Linked DNA regions of Homo sapiens: region 2 is linked to region 1. The links are contacts of gene promoters, found by promoter capture Hi-C in human tissues and cell types (Jung and others, 2019). All regions are on one chromosome and are shown on one strand. The core of a region is centred on a gene start or on the middle of the fragment in contact, and the rest is flanking DNA. Distances in the headings are between cores, read along the strand shown. Region 1 holds the start of TIMP3 (TIMP metallopeptidase inhibitor 3). Region 2 overlaps SYN3 (synapsin III).

The links. Contacts are between HindIII fragments. The study calls those that stand out against the background at their distance.
Region 2: a fragment that was not itself captured here is called in contact with the fragment with the promoter of TIMP3 in region 1 in 1 of the 25 tissues and cell types used here (thymus).

What each region holds. Positions count from the first base shown.
Region 1 is chr22:32,799,570-32,805,329 of GRCh38, reverse strand. It overlaps TIMP3 (TIMP metallopeptidase inhibitor 3), which reads right to left and starts at 3,625. Exons shown (of 5, transcript NM_000362.5): 1 at 3,208-3,625. The coding sequence starts at 3,328. All of the region lies in intron 6 of SYN3 (synapsin III), which reads left to right. The HindIII fragment of the contact is 19,598 bases long and covers 1-5,760 here.
Region 2 is chr22:32,765,447-32,771,206 of GRCh38, reverse strand. The region is part of intron 6 of SYN3 (synapsin III); the gene reads left to right. Among named protein-coding and RNA genes, the nearest start is that of TIMP3, 33 kb to the left of the region's middle. The HindIII fragment of the contact is 6,907 bases long and covers 1-5,760 here.

The sequences.
Region 1 (5,760 bases), core at 2,376-4,875:
TGATACTGAAAGAATCTGCTGGCACTGGCCCCTGTCAGAACAATTTGGAGCTATCCAGGGGCCATCCTCTGGGGCTGGCAGCCGGCCCCCCAGCTGAGCCTCATGCTCAAATTCCCAACAGGCTCAGAGGCAGGCCCCGAACACACTTCATCCTACAGCCCCATTCCTCCCATGCAAAGGCGGCAAGAGAGAAGGAGAGAAGGGCTTGGCATTCTGAAGCAAAATTCTCTTTCTCTGCTGCAACCCCCCTCAGCCCTGCCAGCCACCTTTGCAGAAGCCACACACGCGCACACACACACACACGCACACACGCACATTTTCAGAAAGCCCTTGGCACAGCCCACCCCTTCCTGAGCTGGACAGAGCTGCCAGGGCAGATTTGCCCGGGCCGAGGCCGCCTTCTTCATCTCCAGCCCCCTCCCATTCCTCTTCTAGAGTCAAGGTTTTGTCAGGAGTTTCAGGGGCAATGACTGGCCAGGGAGGGGGACCACAGACATCCTGCCTGCTGCCAAGTCCCTTTCTTTCCCCCACAGTGTGTCTTATAAGCCGGCATGTAGTTTATTCTTCTCCTAAACACTTCCATAGGGTGCAGGGCCTGGAGTTGCCATAGAAACACCTTTTAACTCCTCCTCCCCCAGAATGCCATGCCAGGCCCTAGGACTTTGGGGAAAAAAGACAAAAAGAGACACCTGTGGATGAGCAGAGACAGGAGGAAAGGCCATCGGGCAGCCCCCCGGAGAGGACCAGGCCAGGCCTCCTGTGCCTTTTGCTAGGCCAACATGGCACCAAGCCATGAAGAGAAAACCACCATGATGGTTTTAAAACAGGAAGTTGATGGGCTGATGTGAACACCTTTAGGGGGCTACAAAGTTGACTGGTGGGGTTGTGTGGGTCCCAAGGAATGGGGAGCTCCTTCATATTTGTTTGAGGGCGAGAATAGACAGTTTCAACCCAGACTGGAAACCAGAAAGGCTCTGAGCAATGAAACTTGGGAGCCAAGTACTGGACGCCAGCAGGGTGCTGTGCAAGGCGAGGGAGGTCGGCAGGCAAGCAGCTCACACCCACACCTCCCATTTTAAAAGCATTAGCTCATCCCTGCCACTAGTGCAGCTCACCAAACCCAGGCAGAACAATTTGGGATCCGTGCCAGAGCATCGAAGATTTTTTGTTTCTTTTTTTCTTTTTGATTCCACAATCTCCTGGTCTTTGGCTACTTCCTGGTAACTTAGATTTTCTCTGAGAAATTTATGAAGAGGAGCGAGGGAGCTATTTCTTGTTTCAATCCAGAGAAATTGTAAGAAACTTTCTGCATTGCTCAGACCCACCGCAGGAAACCTAAGCAGTAAGCAGACGGGAAGGCCCCCATTGGAAGCAGGATCTACTCATGCTTGTTTTCACTTTTCCGTGGTCAATTTTTAGGGTAGAAACCCCAAAGCAAAGGGCAAGGGGGAAGAATGGGGACCTACTCCCACTACATACCAAAAAAACGCAAGTGAAGTCACCCAGCCCATTTTCCAGCAGAAAAGGACTTGGGCTGCACCCCTGCACACCCTGATTCCACCTGCCAGCCTCCTGGCCGCACGTGTGTGATCCTGCTGGGCAAAACCAGAACTCAGCTGCAGCAGCAACTCCCCACACTAATCAGGTGGGAATGTTACCAACTGGGATGAGGAGGGAAAGGGTAAGTGGAATGTGGGTGGAGGTGGAGGAGGGAGGAAAACCCTCCCCAGTCTTCAGGCTGCCCAAAAGGATCTTTCTAAGCAATCCACAAATCCTGGGCCAGCTGGGTTCCCCCAGGAGAGGGGAGGATGTACCATGCAGGCCCCAGGGAGCCTCTTACAAGGGTGACCTCAGGTCACACAAACACCCTCAGCTGCCAACTGCACTGACATTCTGGTCACCACACCCCCACTCTGACCTCTAGGCTCAGCCCAGCCCACCAGCAGTGCCCCTCCCGGCCCTCACTGCCTCCCCTGCCAAGCTCCTACCTCCTCCCCCTCCTCACCACAACACGCTGGTAGAGTCCCTCACCCAAGACTCAGTGGAAAATTTCCTTCTCCTTTATGACTGTACTTAAAACACACACGCTCCATTCTTCACCTCTGAATCGACACAGGCAGAGGGCGGCAAGGCTGTCCCACCCCACCGCCCAGCCCAGCCCAGTGCACACACACACACTCTCCCAGCAGAGCCACTGGACTTGCACGCTTTATGGGCTGGAAAGGAGGAGAGAGATGTTTCCCAGATGCCACTCCACCTTTAGCCATCCAAACACAAGTGTCCCAAACACTCCCAGACAAGCCTCCCAGGATGCTCTCGGGGCCCTCCATACACACTAAGGAGTAGGAGGTCTCTTTACAGGGTCTCTCTACTCAAGACACTAAGTCCAGTCTGGAACTGTCACCGTGATGTGACCCTTGGCAGGTTTGTTCTTTTGGTGACAAATCTGTTTTCCACTACCCATTCTCCCCCTCCCCACACACATTCAAGGGGGAAAAAAATAGCCTTCCTGTGAATTTTCACAGCTATGTGGTGAGTGACCCCTCGCACCTTCTGCTGGCTATCAACACTCTCAAACACAGTGCCTCCAGGGCGTGGGTCAATGCCACAGCTTTCTCCTCATTTTCCCCCTTAAATCCACCCAAACTTGGCAGTCCCAGAAGCTCGGTTAGCGCTTGCCTGGGAAGCCTGCAGCTGGGTTGGGTCTCAGTGAAAAGAATGAATTTCATAGGCGCAGGAGATGATGCAGACTCGGAGTACTCCAAGTTTCTCCTGCAACTTTCCGTGCACATGGCGGGCAACTTTTTTTTTTTTTTTTAACTATTCAATTTCCCAGCACTTTAGTTAGCATTCCAAGTTTTGGGAACCCTTTCCCCACCCTTCTCTTCTAGCCCTTCCTCCGTTAGTAGTGAATGGGGACATTTTCCAGATGTCAAAAGGACCGGTAGGAACCTCACGACCTAAGTTAGGAAAGCAAAGGCGGCCAGGGGCTCCCTCAGCCACTGTGAGTTTCCTCTGCAGGGCATCTTCCCCTCTCAGCTATGCCAGCGCCCCCGCCCAAGGACATCGAGTTTCTCCACTCCGCCCCAACCCCGTCTGCCCCTCTCCTGGGGCAGAGGAAAGGAGTGGGGCTCGCCCTGCCTCCCTAAGCAGCGCTGCAGTCCTGGCTGCAGCGTGGGGCTCGGGCGGGGCACCAGGAGCGCTTACCGATGTCGGAGTTGCAGAAGGCGTCCTGGGGGTGGCTGGGCGAGCATGTGCACGCCTCGGCGCCCCAGTCCCCCAGGCTCCAGCTGCCCAGGAGCACGATGAGCCCGAGCCAAGGGGTCATTGCCGCTGCTGCCGCCGCTGCCGGGGCTGCTGCTCGCCTCTCCAAAGTTGCCGTGCGCGCCGCCGGCGGGGCTGCTGCAGCCCGAGCTCGCTCGCCCGCCGGGCCGTGCGGGGCAACCTTGGCCTCCGGCGCGCTGCCCTCCGAGTGCCCGGCGGGACGGGATGGGGCGCAGCGAGGCTGCCTCGGCGCTGGCGCAGGACTCGGCGGGCGGCCTCCCGGCGAAGGAGCAGGAGCTGGAGGAGCAAGAGGAGGAGGAGAAGCCGTCTGAGCGCCCGCCGCCTGCCTGCTGCCCGCTCTGCGCCGCTGCCTGGGCGGCCGAGTGATATAGCGCTGGGCCCCCGGGGACCCCGCCTCGGGCTGTTGGGGCCCGCCCCCTCAGACCAATGGCAGAGCCGCATTACCTCATCGGCCCTCCAAAAAGGGGGCGGGGCCGGGGGCAAGGGGTAACGGGGCGGGGCCGCCCCCGGATCGTTCAGATCCTTATAGGGAATAATGCCGCCGTGGGCACGCGAGTGGGTGGGCTGGGGCGCGCCCGGGACCGGTGCTTGCCGCTGGGTCCTCGGAGCGGAGCCCTCGTGCCCCTTCTCGTCTGCGCCCTGGCCCCACGCCCACCTGGGCCACTGGGTGTCTCTGACCCAAACCAGAACCAACTAACACCCACCCACCCCAGCAGGACCGCTTCCACAGGTGAGGGGTGGCCATGTCCTAGAGACCTTGACTGTGCTTGGTGGAACCAGCGGGGGAATGCTAACTGCTACCCCTCCAGTTTCTCTGGAGAGAGCAGGCACAGAGGAGAAAGACCCAAACTCTCTCTCTTTCTCTCTCTCTCTGGTTCTTACTCTCTGGGATATGGGAAGCCATCTGCTGTTTGCAGCTGGCTATGATATATGATAGAAGACTGTTTTCTGTGCTCTCCCAGAGCAAACGGGGTTCTGTATTCATTCAACAAACACGGTTCAGGATGCTGGGTTAAGCAACACAAAGCCCTTGCCCCCGTGGACATCCATGAATGCACAGGGTGATTTTCTGTGATGCTAGGGCTATGAAGAAAACAAAACAGAGTTCTGGGTTGGACATGACTGGGGAGGGCCTGCTCTCTCTGCGATAGTAAGGGAAGGGCTCCCTGAAGTGCCATCCTCGCTGAGAAGTGGACAAAGACAAGGATCAGCTCTGGGGCAAGCCACAGGAGAGAGGTACCAGGCAGGGGGAACAGCAAGTGCAAAGACCCTGGGCATGTTTGAAAGACAGAAAGTAGAAAGGCAAGAGGAAGTGGTTCCCTGCCCATGGCTGACAGAGCTCCACCCTTCAGCAAGGGATTTGGGGGTGAGCTGATCCAAAACTGTAGTAAAACCAGGAGAACGATCCAGGATCCTAGACGACTAGCTATAATAGATGATTGCAGATAACTAACACAATTACTATCCTTATTATTGACATCTTGATTCTGCTTTGTATTTTTAAAAGCAGGATTCTGTATCTCACCGTATTATAGCTCTCACAATAATCTTTGTGGGTAGGAAAAGCAAGCACAAGTATCACTCCCACTTTCCAGATGAGGAACCGGCACAGAAAGATGGGATGATTGGTGGCCAGCCAGGAACTCGTCACCCCTTTCCACTGCTCCTTCCCATCTGAAGAGAGACATGCATTTCCCTGAACGTCAGCAGCTGTTCCATCTAACTGCAAATGGCCATTTGCAGCTGGGATCTTCCATCTTTCTACACTTTTGTCTCTTTCCCTTTCTCTTCCGCTTCATCCTGTTAGAAATGCCACAAGTTTGGAACAAATAGAAACAGGGAGAAATGCAAGTTCAGCTTCTTTCTCAGAACTCCTCTGTTTACATCTCAGACAAGTGACATTGGGACAGCAGAGGCCGAAGAATTCGTGAGAGATGGTATTTCCAAGAACATTTTTGAAACTCCTTTTTCCCCTTTGAGCACTTTAGCCATAGGAAAGGGAAACCAGTTTCCACATCTTTTTGACTTGTCCCCTCCACCCAGCTTTAAAAACCTTCCCTGCCTTCACTCTAACTGTGGCCTAACTCGTAGAGATGTTTCTGTCTCTCGATGTTTTTCTAGCACTGTTTTCATTGTTTTATGGGGTATGATTCTATTGCTTCCCCAACCACAGTAGGAATACTTTGAGGCCTGGGATATTTAGCCACACTGCTTTTTAGCCCTCTCAGAACCAAATAGGGTCTCAGGAGACTGGAGAGCATGGGTGTGGCCAACAGCTGACTGAGTCCTGAGCAGAGTGCCCTGGAGGCCACTCTAAGGATCCAGGTTGAATGAGGGCATACGTGGTGGAATTTGAGAGATTCGCTTATCCCCGCGCCCCACATGACTTATTCCACAGTCATGTGGAAGGTTTTAGAAGACTTTCCAGACCAAATCCACTTTGGATAAGCATCTTACATGATAGAGGCCCTCTCT
Region 2 (5,760 bases), core at 1,333-3,832, 33 kb after region 1:
CTGGAAACCATCCTTCTCAGCAAACTAACACAGGAACAGAAAACCAAACACTACATGTTGTCACCCACAAGTGGGAGTTGAACAATGAGAACACATGGACACAGGGAGGGGAACATCACACACCAGGGCCTGTTGGGGGGTGAGGGGCAAGGGGAGGGAGAGCATTAGGAAAAACACCTAATGCATGTGGGGCTTAAAACCTAGATGATGGGTTGATGGGTGCAGCAAACCACCATGGCACATGTATACCTCTGTAACGAACCTGCACGTTCTGCACAGGTATCCCAGAACTTAAAGTAAAATAAATAAATAATAATAATAACTGAACACATATGTGTTAATTGAACACATATGTGCCAGGCACTCTTCCGTGTGCTACATATCGAGTAATCCATTTAATCCTCCCAGCATCCTTATAGAATGGGTGCTCTTGCTATAGTTACCTTACAGAGGAGAAAACAGAGACACAGAACTGTTAAGAGCCTTGACTCAGGGCCTTACACCTATTAATTGGGGAATATGGAATGTCAGGAACCATGTAGTTGCTGTATTATATGATGGGTAAGGAGGGTCTCTCCAACGAAGCAGAGACATGAACAAGGACAGAGACAGAGAGAGCCATGTGGGTTTCTGGGAGAAGAGGTTTTAGAACAAGGGAACATCAAGTGCAAAGGCCCCGAGGTGGTAGCAAACTCGGGGTGTTCTAGGAGCAGCACGAGGAGCAGAGAGAGTGACGAGGAGAGGCAGAAGATGAGGGTAGAGATGTTATGGGGATAGGGAAGAGCAGATCACACAGGCCCTGTGGCTCATGGTAAGGAGTTTATTTTATTCAGTGGGAGATGGGAAGTCATTGCAGAGCATTGAGCAGAAGAGTGGCATTTGACTTACATCTGAAGGCATCACCACTCTGCTATGAGAAGAGATTGGTTGTGGGGCAAGAACAGAAATAGAGAGAGCATATGGAGGTGAATTTGCCTTGGATCAGGAGTTAGTGATAGATGTGGTAAAACGAGGTCAATTCTGATTTTATTTTGAAGGAGAATTTGCTGATGGATTGGATGTGGAGTGCAAGAGAAAAAGTTAAGGGTGACTCCAAGGTTTCGGGGCTGAGCAAATGAAAGGAGCTGCCATCAACTGAGATGGGGAAAGCTGCAGATTGAACAGTCAGGGGGGCTAGAAGTCAGGGTTTGCCTGCTGACATATTAGACTAGAAATGCCTATTAGGCCTCCAATGGGACATGTTAAAGAAGCAGTTGAATCTATGTAAATTTGGGAGTTGTCAACACATGGATGATATTTAGTCATGAGACTGAATGAGATCAATAGGGGAGGGAGTGTGGAGAGAGAAGAGCAGAGCCAGGAGTGCTACAGTGTTTAGAAGTCAGGGAGAGGCCAGGCGCAGTTGCTCATGCCTGTAATCCCAGCACTTTGGGAGGCCGAGACAGGCGGATCATCTGAGGTCGGGAGTTCGAGACCAGCCTGACCAACATGGAGAAACCCCATCTCTACTAAAAATACAAATTTATCTGGACATGGTGGCGCATGCCTGTAATCCCAGCTACTCAGGAAGGCTGAGGCAGGAGAATAACTTGAACCCGGGAGGCGGAGGTTGCGTTGAGCCGAGATCGCGCCACTGTACTCCAGCCTGGGCAACAAGAGCAAAACTCAGTCTCCAAAAAAAAAAAAAACAAACACAGAAGTCAGGGAGATAAGGAGCCACCGGCAAAGTTGACTGAGTTCAACTCAGCTGATGAGAATCAAGAGTGAGAGAGTGGTGTCCCAGAAGCCAAGTGAGGAAAGTGTTTCAAAGAGGTGGAATGATCAACTATGTCAAGTGCAGCTTCATAGCGAAGTAAAACAAGAGCTGAAATTCTGCCATTATATTTGGCAACATGGAGGTCATTGATGACCATAGCAGGTGGAGGGATGGGAGTGAGGTCGAGAGAGAATGAAAGAGAGAGCAGAATCCAGAGGTATAGACTTTTTGCTGTAAAGTAGAACAGGGGGGAAATGGGTGGTAATTGATGGTGAATATAGGGTCAAGAAAGGGTTTTTATTTTTAAGGAAGATATTACAATGGCGTGTTGAAATGAATGGAAATGATCCATTAGAAAAAGAAAAGTGGATGCCGGAGAAAGAGGAGATGTGGGTGGAGCATTGTCCTAGAATCGGCGAAAGGGGTGATACCTAGAGCACAAGTGAAGGGTTTCCATGGAGTAGGAGCACAGGGTTCATGCAAAGGAGCAAGAGGGAAAGCAGGGTATATGGAATAGGTACTGGAAGGTGGGTAGATGTGGTGCTGAGAGCTTTGGCAGTTCTCTTCTTATTGCTTCTAATGTTTTCAATGAAATTTGAAACAAAATCATCGTCACTGAGAATCTAGAGGAGAAGGACATATGAGAAGTGTGAGATGAAAGGAAGCAATGTTAAATAGTTGCCTGGAAGAGTAGGAGAATGAATGGGCTCAGGAAGTACTATGGGATGAGTCCTGCAGTTCATGGTCACAGTTTTCTCCAGCCATGTTCAGATGTGGTATATTTTTGCAACCAAGAGAAAAAATAAGATAAAACAGAGTGTTTATAGTACATAGAAAGGCAAGATTTGTTTTGAACATATATTTGAAATGCCCATGGGATACACACATTAGATATCCAGGAAGCAGTTGATTATACATATATGGCTTGGAGCTCAGAAGGAGGTCTGGGATAAAGGTAGAATCATCAGCAAAGAGGTGGCGATTGAACCTGAGAATGTAGGTGAGGTCTCCCAGGAAAGAAATATAAAGAGAAGAGAGTTGGGCATAAACTTGGGAAACATCCTAATTTTAGGGGTAAAAAGAGGAAAGCCATCCATCAAAGAAGGCAGAGAAAGGGGCGAATATGTAGATGAAGCATGTCTTTCCAGCAGCCTAGAAATGAGACAGTTGAAAGAAAAGGAGTATAAAGTTATTCAGGGAGACCAAGGAGAAGGAGAAAGACCACTGAATTTTCCCAGAAGGAAGCCAGAGCTGGGTTATCTCAGGGCACTTAGCAGAAATGCAAAGAAAAGGAAATCATGAGCAAAAAGATAGGGGGCATGAAGGAACAGACCCAACAGAGCTATGTGCAAATAATTGGAACTTTGGAAGGAGAGAGAGGAGTAACTGGAAGAGAAATGATACTTTTAAAGATATAATAGAAGAAAATGTCTCTGAACTAAAGAAATACCTAATTTGTCTGATCAAAGGGGTGACATGTTAAACTAGAAATGCGTGTTAGACATCCAGGGGAAGATGTTGAAGAAGCAATTGAGTCTAGGTAAATTTGGGAGTAGTTAACACATAGATTATATTTAAAGTCATGAGGCTGAGTGAGATCAACAAGAGAAGGAAGTGTTGGTAGAGAAGAGTCCCCAAGTCCTAGAAAGATGAATGATAAAATCAATACAAAGACAAAATCTGGTGACAATTCTGAGCTCTAAAGAGAAAATCCTAAATGTTCTCAGAGAAAGAAAGATTACAGTCTACTTACAAAGAAAATAAAAGAAAAGAAAGCTGATACCGGATTACTCATCTGCAACAATGTAAGTTCAAAGACAGTGGAATAATGTTCTTACACTAATGAAAGACATGAATATGAACTAGAATTCCCTTACCTAGTCATGACGCCATTCATATTAGAGGGGCTCTAACACCCTAGGATACCATCCATAGGCCCTTTCTGAGGAAATTACTTAAGGATGTATTCCAATCAAATGAAAATTCAGTCAAAACATGGATCTCAAAATGAGGGAAGATAAATCATGCAAATAAGAGTGTGTGTGTGCATGTATGTGTGTGTGTGAAGTCACCAGCAATCATTTGAAGGAGCAATCCTAGGAAAGTAGTGGGAGCAGAAACTGGATTGCAGGGGACATGAAAGCAGTAACCAGATAATATTCCTTTAAGAAACGTGGAGACAAAAATAAGAAGAGAAGGCTACTTGAGGGTCAGAAGAACACTTGACTTTATTTACGAAAGCAAAACCCCAAGTGTGCTTGTGGGCAGAGGAAAAGGAGTTGTGAGTAGGCAGGTGTGCAAAGTACACAAATAACATGTGTAGCATCCCTGATGCGCAGTAGGGATTGAGTCAATTCCGATGATTGGAGAATAGGATTCATTCTATCCCGGAAGGCACAGGCCTATAACTGATTTGGATTTGGAAGGGAGGGAGAGATGTAAGAACTGTCAGGGGAAAGAAGGAAGTTGAGACCATGGGGTCGCAAATGGTCTACTGTGGATACCCAACTGTCTATCAGAATTGCACACGTAAGTCCTGTATTTTAGTATCAGCGTATTTAATTCTATAATCTGGAGTGTTGCCCAGTCAGTGCAGCATTCAGCTGGAATCTGTCTATACCCATTCCCACTCAACCAAAGTAAACCTCTGGAAAGGTTTATTCTGAAGGGTACAAGGGACTGATACTTTATTTATTTAGAGGAAGGATGAATTGGAGCATATCTGGGAATCCTAGACTGGGTACCTGGGGGAAAACATCAAGATATTTGGTTCTCAGTGACATGATGAAAGTAGAAGGGCTCACGGAGGTGGGGACAGGAGCCTAGGACAAAATCAGGTGATGATGTGAAACAGCAGTGCATAAGAATAGGATTGGCTGTGCGATGCAATAGGTATGGCCTTCTGGGTGCGGAGATTCAAATCTTGGCTTTCATTCACTGTGGGTCATTGAGAAAATGATTCCACTTCTCTGAGCATCAGGTCCCTCATCTATAAAAGATGGCAACAGCAGTGACCTTGCAGAACTGCTGTATCACGCTGATTGAACAGGTTGTTGTGGAGGGCCTACTATGTGCCAGGCATTGTTTCCAGTGCTGGGAATTTCTTGGTAAAGAAAATTGTACATGTTTCTTCCTCCTGGAGCTTCTATTCTAGGTGATCATGAGAAGTAGAAGAAGAAAGCCTGCAGATACACAGCTGGGGTCATGGAAAGCACAAAAGGTGCTCAGCACATACCCACTTCCACCTGATCCCTTCCCTAAGTGCCTTTTCCAAAGGCTCTATATCTCACCCACGCCCCAGTCTTTCTCCCCATGTCGGGCAGAATTGTATGGCTCCAAATACCTCCTCCAGTTCTCCAAACCACAGAGGTGCAAGCTACCTGGTTTTTCAGCAGAAACAAAAACCAAACAAATGAACAACAACAACAAAAACCTTGAAAACCAGCCTCTCTCATCTGGACAAAGAGCTGGAAGAGGAAGCCTAGTGCTTGGAGGGCCCCTGGGTTTACAGGACTGGAATCTCAGACCCAGCTTATAAGGGATTACTCTCTATAAGTTCTCCATCTCAGATTGGCTCCTGGCCCTTCTCTAAGGTTCTTCCACACAGCCTGAGTTTGACACATAAGCTCCAACCATTCAAAAACACAAGATCCTGCATTCAGTGGTGTGTGATCTTTTTTTGAACACCCAATCTTTGTCTCTGTGCAAAGGGGTGCACAGTCCCCCAGCCTTCCTCCTCCCCTTCTCTATCTCTAGCCTTTCCCAGGCCTCCCGCTCCTGCCAGCCATGCCCAAACTCTTAACGCTCACGTGTCCAGCTCTCCCAGGAGTAGTTTCCGTTTGTGGCGAACCCTCCTTGCTATGCGACCCTCCTCCACTGTCACCCTCTCGCCTGTCATTTTCTCATTATCGTCACCACCCCAGCCCCAAAGTTGTCCTCCACTTTCCTGTTTTTCAATTAAACCTTGTCCTATCAGGAATCCTCAGCCACCTTGTTCTGTGGTT